2 separate regions of the Homo sapiens genome follow, and region 2 is linked to region 1. Evidence: promoter capture Hi-C in human tissues and cell types (Jung and others, 2019). All regions are on one chromosome and are shown on one strand. Each heading gives the region's core, a stretch centred on a gene start or on the middle of the fragment in contact. The rest is flanking DNA. Distances are from core to core; before and after follow the strand shown.

What was found. Contacts are between HindIII fragments. The study calls those that stand out against the background at their distance.
Region 2: a contact is called between a fragment that was not itself captured here and the fragment with the promoter of ZNF736 in region 1, in 1 of the 25 tissues and cell types used here (mesendoderm cells).

What each region holds. Positions count from the first base shown.
Region 1 is chr7:64,311,530-64,315,874 of GRCh38, forward strand. It overlaps ZNF736 (zinc finger protein 736), which reads left to right and starts at 2,432. Exons shown (of 4, transcript NM_001170905.3): 1 at 2,432-2,624. The coding sequence starts at 2,622. RefSeq lists an enhancer at 2,485-2,664. The HindIII fragment of the contact is 17,485 bases long and covers 1-4,345 here.
Region 2 is chr7:62,936,668-62,941,012 of GRCh38, forward strand. No RefSeq gene overlaps it. Among named protein-coding and RNA genes, the nearest start is that of LINC03075, 420 kb to the right of the region's middle. The HindIII fragment of the contact is 3,503 bases long and covers 641-4,143 here.

The sequences.
Region 1 (4,345 bases), core at 1,182-3,681:
TGTCTGCTTGCAAAGCCCAGTGAGGTTTTGCCTGAGCTGGACTCAGACTCTCCCTCAGATGGTGCCAATGGAAGGATAGTAAACTTAGGCCTCTCCAAGGGCAGGCAGCTCGTATGTGGCTGAGCACTTTTGTTTTTTGTTTTTTGGTTTTTTTTGAGATGGAGCCTCCTCTGTCACCCAGGCTGGAGTGCAGTGGCATGATCTTGGCTCACTGCAAACTCCGCCTCCCAGGTTCAAGCAATTCTCTGCCTCAGCCTCCTTAGTAGCTGGGATTACAGGTGCCCACAACCACGCCCAGCTAATTCTTGTATTTTTAGTAGAGACGGGGTTTTGCCATCTTGGCCAGGCTGGTCTTGAACTCCTGACCTGGTGATCCACCATCCTCAGCCTCCCAAAGTACTGGGATTACAGGTGTGAGCCACCGTGCCTGGCCTGGCTGAGCACTTTTTTAAATGGGAGCCCTCAGTTTTTATGTCTGTCATCAAAGAGAGTTGGGGTGGGAGGTCCCTGAGCCTCAGCTCCCATTGTCCCCTTTGAACCCCAGAACCTGCTGCAGACCCAAGTCCTGCTTTGTGCACATCCCCTGCCCCTGGTGGCCCTGGCAGTAATGCAGTATGAAGAGTGTGGGGAGGGGACCTAGTCAGGGTCCAAGGGGCCTTTCTGATGACCATTGGCTGACTTCTAGGGAAATGTAACACCCAGAAAGAAAAGGAAGGTGAGCAGCTGGGGCAACATTGGGAGAGAGTGGGGAGGTGAAAGTCAGCAACACCCTGTGCTATCAGGTGGTGATGGGGATGAGTATCCACTTTTGGGTGTCCATTCAAGGCCTGTCCCTGAAATCTCATAAGCCCCCATCTCCTGGACTCTCCTATCCACATCTTTTACTTGAAAAAGCCAAAGACACGCAGCTGCCTCTCTCCAACTCTCTCCCCTCTTCCTAGCTGGCCTCCAAAAACATGAAGCACTCCCTTATTAACTCTGTGGTGAGATTTTAACAAGTCACAATGTTATGTGGTCCCTAGCTCCACCGTTTCCCAAATCCACTCAGCCCAGCTCTTCCAGGCCTTTACTCTGATTTCTCTTATAGAGGCATTTCAGGGACTGTTGCCACAGGAGGGAAGGGCTGAGGGAGAAAGGCCCCTTGCTCTTTTGATGTGGAGGCCTCCAGCTGGGAGGGAGGAGCTCTTCCCTCTGAATCCCTGGAGCTCTTCCCCATCACAGGTACCTGCCTTTTTGCTGCTTTAGCCTCATCTGGGCTTTCTGTGGTTTCTTCTCTAGGGTGGCCAACTTGGGTGTCTTCCTCTGCCAGGGTCAAGGACAAGGTCAGTGATATTATGCTCCCTTCACCCAGTTATGCCCAGTTACATTGACCTGGTACCCTGGATAACTGGTGTGAGTCAAGCTGGTCCAGTGCTCCTGCCACCTCCAGTAAACTCTGATTCTAGATTCACTCCCTGCTGCAACACTCACTGTGTGTGGAACCTTGGGCATGCAGCCAGGCCTCCCTGAGACTGTTTCTCAACTTGAAAGTGTGATGGGAACCACACCTACCTCACTGGGCCTCGTGAGGACTCAGTTATATGTAGCCGTCACCATTGTTCTCATCATCATCTCTCTCAGGAAGAGCCAGGCACAAGCACTCTCAAATTTTTCTCCTTTGAAGCTCCTCATTACCCTGTGAGGCTCATCATCCCTACATTTTTTAGATAAGAAAACAGAGGCCCAAAGAGGGCAGTGACTTGCCCAGGGCTCTACAGAAGAGGCCGGCTCCTCCCCACACCTGGAGGCCCTGACCTAGCTGACTTTACCCCACAGCCCAGCACTATCCCTGACTAGGGTCCCATCTTGGTTCTCCATGCTTGTTTAGGTCCTCAGGCAGGCTCAGCTTTGGTGGGAAAGAGACAGGGTGTTTTGGGAGGCCTGGGCGAGTGGCACCTCTAACCAATCTGCTAGGCCCTCACCTCTCAGTCTCACTGAGACACTCCATTAATTGGAAGCAGACCCAAAATTGCTTCACAGACTGAAGGTGATAATTGTCTACAGCCAGCTGAAGCAGCTGCATCTCCTGGAGGACTTTGATCTCCTGCAGCTAAAGGGAAAGACAGGATGCTGAGACAGGGCCTGCAGCATACACATAACTATAATTCAGAATGTAATATATACACACACACGAAAATATAATCAGAAAGTGATATAATCTTATATGCAAGGTTAAATACAAATGTCTCTCAGGCAGGGCCAGGCCCCCAGCACAGGGAGGACTCGCCTGAAAACGCTGCAGGCAAAAACCTGTCACCCTTGCCTCATTCAGCCCAGTGTCTGATTACATCTTCTGTCACTTAGGATTGAAACGGGTGGGGCCTGGAGCCCTAGCCAATCAGTGGCGCCAGCGTGAAACTGTCCAATCAAGTGCGCAGCTACAGAGGAAGAGGCGGCCTCTTCAATATGGCGGGGCCTTTGTCTCCTAGCTTCCGGGCTCTGATCCTAGTTCGCGTCTCCACTGTTCCATCTCCTCCGTTCCTGGAGTTCCTCGGTGACTCTACTATAGCTTCTGTTATCCTGTGACCTGCAGGTACTGGGAGATCCATAGGGAGGACGGCGGAACATCTGGAGGCTGGGAAATGGTGAGTGCGTGGAGTGGGTGTCCCGAGAATGGGGAAGAGGCTGTTTGAATCCGGCCGGAACCGGCTGCGGTGGTATCTGGGCCTTCTCGCGGTCTGCTCTGGAGTCTGCATCCCCGAGTCCCCGCGGGCACAGCTCAATCCTCATTTCCCTCCATCGCAGATTAGGGGCTGAGCCAGCAGCCAAAACGCTACGTCTTGTTTTGTCCCTAAACTCGAATTTCTCCCCAGCTCAGATCCCTTCCTGGGCAGCTCTGTGCCGCAACCTCGAGTCTCCCTCCTCCAGATTGTGTGGGGGTGTTGGGAGTGTCATAAGACGGGAATTCTCATTTAGGGTCTGGAGTTCCTCCGTGGAAGAAGCAGTGGGCCGTGGGGTCCCTAGTCCCTCCTTTCTCCTTTTAAAAATAAAATCATGGCCCTTTTTTAAATTTATTTATTTTTGAGACAGTGTCTCACTCTGTTGCCCAGGCTAAAGTGCATTTCGGTTCACTGCAGCCTCCACCTACTGGGCTCAGATGATCCTCTCACCCCAGCCCCCCAAGTAGCTAGGACTAGAGGGGTGCGCCACCACGCCTATTTTGTTTTGTTTGTTTTTGTAGAGACAGGCTTTTGCCATGTTGCTCAGGCTGGTCTCGAACTCCCCGAGCTCAGGTCTCAGGTGATCCGCCCGCCTCGGGCCTCCTAAAGTGCCGGGATTACGTGCATGACCCACCACCCTAGCCTAAATTGAGGCAACTTTAGGATATAATTTGGATGTGTTTTCCAGCCCAAATCTCCTATTTAAATGTAATCCCCCATGTTGGAGGTGGGGCCTGGTGGAAGGATTGTGGGCCCGGATTTCTCACGAATAGTTTAGCACCATTCCTCTTGGTATTGTCCTCTCAATAGTGAGTGAGTTCCCTGAAGTTCATCATTTAGAAGTGTACAGCACCCCACCTTGCCTCTTTTTCAAGCTCTTGCTTCACCTTCATCCATGATTTTAAGCTTTCTGGGTGGGGCCTCCCCAGAAGCAGACGCTGGTGTTATGCTTTCTATGCAGCCTGTGGAACCATGAGCCAATTAATCCTCTTATAAATTACCCAGTCTGAGGTATTTATAGTAATGCCAGAAGCGATTAATACAAATAGTTTACTTGCACAAACAGTAATTTATCAATCAGAGAACACCCAGCTATGATTTGTTGTTTGGGGGCTCAAAGGAGGGTCTTGGAACAAAAGGTTGTTTTTTTTTTTTAAGAGGTATGAGGAAGCAAACCAGATTCAATATTTGATTGGTTACAGTTACGTATTGCATTTGCAGCCCTCCGGTGGAAATGTCCTGGTTATGTAATTAGAGCTTTTTATTGGCAGCTTGTGGTTGGTTAAGCCTAAGTTGTTTTGTTGTTGTTGTTGTTGTTTCTCAAAGTTAATAATTTACCAGAAATTCCTTCGACGTAGTTAGGTTTCCTTAGGCAGAATCCCAGGGCACCATGGCCACTTCAGCCTAATTGCTAGCTATTTAATTATTTTAATGCTCCACAGGGTCGTTGGTTTTCTCTGCATTTTTCAAATGTTTGGCAAGCAGGGTCTCAAATCTAAAACTGTTCTCCCAGCCTAACTGTTCTAGGGACTGTATAAAATTCTAAATTTCCAATTTCTTTCCCACATTCCCAAATGCCAACTATCCCTCTCCAAATCACATTATGAACTATCAGTTCTTTATTTAATTTTAAAACGGATGTGGCA
Region 2 (4,345 bases), core at 1,142-3,641, 1.4 Mb before region 1:
GTGAGATGAATGCATACATCACAAAGCAGTTTCTCAAGTAGCTTCCTTCTAGTTTTCATCCTGAGATGTTTTCTTTTTTGCCATTGGTCTCAAAGAGCTCCCAAATATCACTTCACAGAGACTACAACAACAGTGTTTCCAGAATGCTGAATGAAAAGAAAGTTTTAACTCTATGAGGTGAATGCACACATCACAAAGCAGTTTCTCAGATAACTTCCTTCTAGTTTTTATCCTGGGGTATTTCTTTTTTTGCCATTGGAAAAAGGATCTCCCAATTGCCTATTTGCAGAATGGACAAAAACAGTTTTTGGAAACTGCTGCATCCACAGAAAGTTTTAACTCTGTGAGATGAATGCATAAAACACAGGGAAATTTCCCAGGAAGCTTGCTAGTTTTTATCCGAAGACATTTCGTTTTTCACCACAGGCCTCAATGCACTCCAAAATATAAATTCGCAAATTCTACAAAAACAGTGTTTCCAAACTGCTGAATGAAAAGAATGATGTAACTCTGCAAGATGAAAGCACACATCACAAAGCAGTTTCTCAGATAGCTTCCTTTTAGTTTTTTTCTGGGATATTCTCTTTTTGCCTTTTGCCTCAGTGAGTTCTCATATATCTCTTCACAGATTCTACAACAACAGTGTTCACAATCTGCAGTGTGAAAAAAAGAGTTTAACTCTGTGAGATGAACGTACACATCACAAAGCTGTTTCTTGGATAGCTTCCTTCTAGGTTTATTTTTCTGGGATATTCACTTTCTAACCTTTTACCTCATTAAGCTCCATAATATACCTTCATAGATTCTACAAAAACAGGGTTTCCAAACTGCTACATCCACAGAAAGGATTAATTCTGTGAGATGAATGCACACATCACAAAGCAGTTTCTCAGAAAGCTTCTTTCTCCTTTTTTTTTTGAAGATATTTCATTTTACACCATAGGCCTCAATACACTGAAAGACATCACTTCACAGATTCTACTAAAACAGTGTTTACAAACTGCTGAACATACAGAAAGGTTTAACTCTGTTAGATGAATGCACATATCATAAACCTGTTTCTCAGAAAGCTTCTTTCTAGTATTTATCTGAAGATATTTCCTTCTTCACCATAGGCTCAATGTGCTCCTAAATATCCCTCCACAGATTCTGCCAAAATGGTGTTTCCAGACTGCTGTATGAAAAGAAAGTTTGTCTCTGAGAGATGAATGCACACATCACAAAGCAATTCCTCAGCTAGGTTCCTTCTAGTTTTAATCCTGGGGTATTCACTTTTTTGCCTTTGACCTCAATGAGTTTCCAAATGTCCATTCACAGAATGGACAAAAACAGTGTTTGCAAACTGCTAATTCCACAGAAATGTTTACTATTGTGCAATGAAGGGAACATCACAAAACAGTTTCTCACAAAGCTTCTTTCTAGTTTTTATCAGAAGATATTTCTTTTTTCACCATATGCCTCAATGTGTTCACAAATATACCTTCAGAGATTCTACGAAAACTATGTTTCCAAACTGCTGAAAAAAAGAAAGGTTTAAATCTACCAGATGAATGCACACATCACATAGCAGTTTCTCAGATCACTTCCTTCTAGTTTTGATCCTAGGATATTCGATTTTTTGAAATTGGCCTCAATGAGCTCCCAAATCTCCACTTGCAGAATGGACAAAAACAGTGTTTGCAAATTGCTGATTCCACAGAAATGTTTAATTCTGTGAGATGAATGCACACATCACAAAGCCATTTCTCAGAAAGCTCCTTTCTAGTTTTTATCTGAAGATATTTCCCTTTTCACCATAAGCCTCATTGTACCCCAAGATATCACCATGCAGATTCCACAAAAACAGTGTTTTCAAACTGCTGAATGAAAAAGAAAGGTTTAACTCTCCAAGATGAATGCACACATCACAAAACAGTTTCTCACAAATCTTCTTTCTTGTTTCTATCTGAAGATATTTCCTTTTTCACCTTAGGCCTCAATGCATTCCCAAACATCCCTTCATGGACTCTGCCAAAACAGTGTTTCCACACTGCTGAATGAAAAGAAAGTTTTAACTCTGCGAGGTTCCCATCAAAAAGTGGTTTCTCAGATAGCTTCCTTTTAGTTTTGACCCTGGGATATTTGCTTTTTCACCATTTGTCTCAGTGAGCTCTCAAATATCCCTTCACAGATTCTACAAGAGTGTTTCCAAACTGATAAATCCAAAGAAATGTTTAGCTCTGTGAGATGAATGCACACATCACAAAGCAGATTCTCAGAAAGCTTCTTTCTAGATTTTATCTGAACATATTTCCTTTTTAACCATAGGCCTCTATGTTCTCCCAAATATCCTTTTGAAGATTCTGCCAAATCAGTGTTTCCAAAGTGAAATGAAAAGAAAGATTTATCTCTGTGAGGGGAATCCACACATCACAAAGTGATTTCTCAGAAAGCTTCTTTCTAGTTTTTATCTGAAGATATTTCCTTTTTCACCATACGCTTCAAAGCACTGCCAGATATCCCTTTGCAGAGTCTACAAAAACAGTGTTTCCAAAGTCCTCAATGAAAAGAAAGGTTTAACTCTGTGAGAAGAATCCATACAACACAAAGTGGTTTCTCAATAGCTTCTCTCTATTTTTTATCCTGGGATATTCCTTTTTTGCCATTGGCCTCAATGAGCTTCCAAATGTCCATTTTCAGAATGGACAAAAAACAGTGTTTGCAAACTGCTGAATCCACAGAAAGTTTGAACTCTCTGAGATGAATGCACATATAACAAAGCAGTTCTCAGAAATCTTATTTCTAATTTTTATCTGAAGATATTTCCTTTTTCACCACAGAACTCAATGCACTTGCAAATATAACTTTGCACTTTCTACAACAACAGTGTATACATACTGCTGAATGAAAAGAATTGTTTAAGTCATAGAGTTGAATGCACACATCACAAAGTGGATTCTCAGGTAGTCTCCTTCTAGTTTTTTTCCTGGGATATGTAACTTTTCGAATTTGGCCTCAATGAGGTTCCAAATATCCTTCCCAGATTCTACAACAACAGTGTTTCCAAAATGTTGAATCCAAAGAAATGTTTATAGTTTATTTGAAGATATTTCCTTTTTCACCATAGGCCTCAATGAACTCCCAAATATAACTTTGCAGATTCTATGACAACAGTGTTTACAAATTGCTGAATTAAAAGGATGGTTTAAATCTGAGACATGAATGCACACATCAGAAAATTCTTTTTCAGATACCTTCCTTCTAGTTTTTATCCTCGGATATTCACTTTTTCTTCACTGACCTCAATGAGCTCCCAAATGTCCATTCGTAGAATGTGCAAAAACAGTCTTTGCAAACTGTTGAATCCAGAGAAAGGTTTCACTCTGTGGGATGAATGCACACATGACAAAGCAGTTTCTCAGAAAGCTTCTTTCTAGTTTTTATCTGAAGTTATTCCTTTTCCAGAATGGGCCTCAACGTGCTCCCAAATATAACTTCACAGATTCTACAACAGTTTTTCCAAACTGCTGAATGAAAAGAATAGTTTACCTCTGATATTTGAATGCACACGTCGCAAAGCTGTTTCTCACATATCTTCCTTTTATTTTTTTAACCTGGGATACTCACCTTTTCACCTTTGGCTGCAATGAGCTACCACATATCTCTTTGCAGATTCTACAATAACAGTTTACCCAAACTGCTGAATCTGCAGAAAGGTTAAACTCTGTCAGCTGAATGCACACATCACAAAGCAGTTTCTCAGAATTCTTTCTAGTTTCTATCTGAAGATATTTCCTTTTTCACCAAAGACCTGAATGCGCTCCCAAATATCCTTTTGTGGATTCTGCCAAAACAGTGTTTCTAGACAGCTGAATGAAAAGAAAGATTTATCTCTGTGATGTGAATGCTCATGTCACAAACTGGCTTCTTTATATCTTCCTTCTAGCTTTTATCCTGGGATATTCCCTTTTATGACATTGGCCTCAATTAGCTCCAAAATGTCCATTCACAGAATGGATAAAAACAGTGTTTGCAAACTACTGAATCCACTGAAAGTTTCATCTCTGTGAGATGAATACACACATCACAAAGCAGCTTTTCAGAATGTTTCTTTCTAGCTTTTATCTGAAGATATTTCCTTTTTCACCATAGGCCTCAATGCGCTCCAAATTATAACTTTGCAGATTCTACAAAAACAGTATTTCCAAATTGCTGAATGAATAGAGAGATTTAACTCTGTGAGAAAAATGCACATTTCAAAAAGCTATTTCTTAAATAGCTTCCCTCTAGTTTTTATCCTGGGATATTTGTTTTTTCTCCATTGGCCTCCATGAACTTCCAAATATCCCTTCACAAATTCTACAAC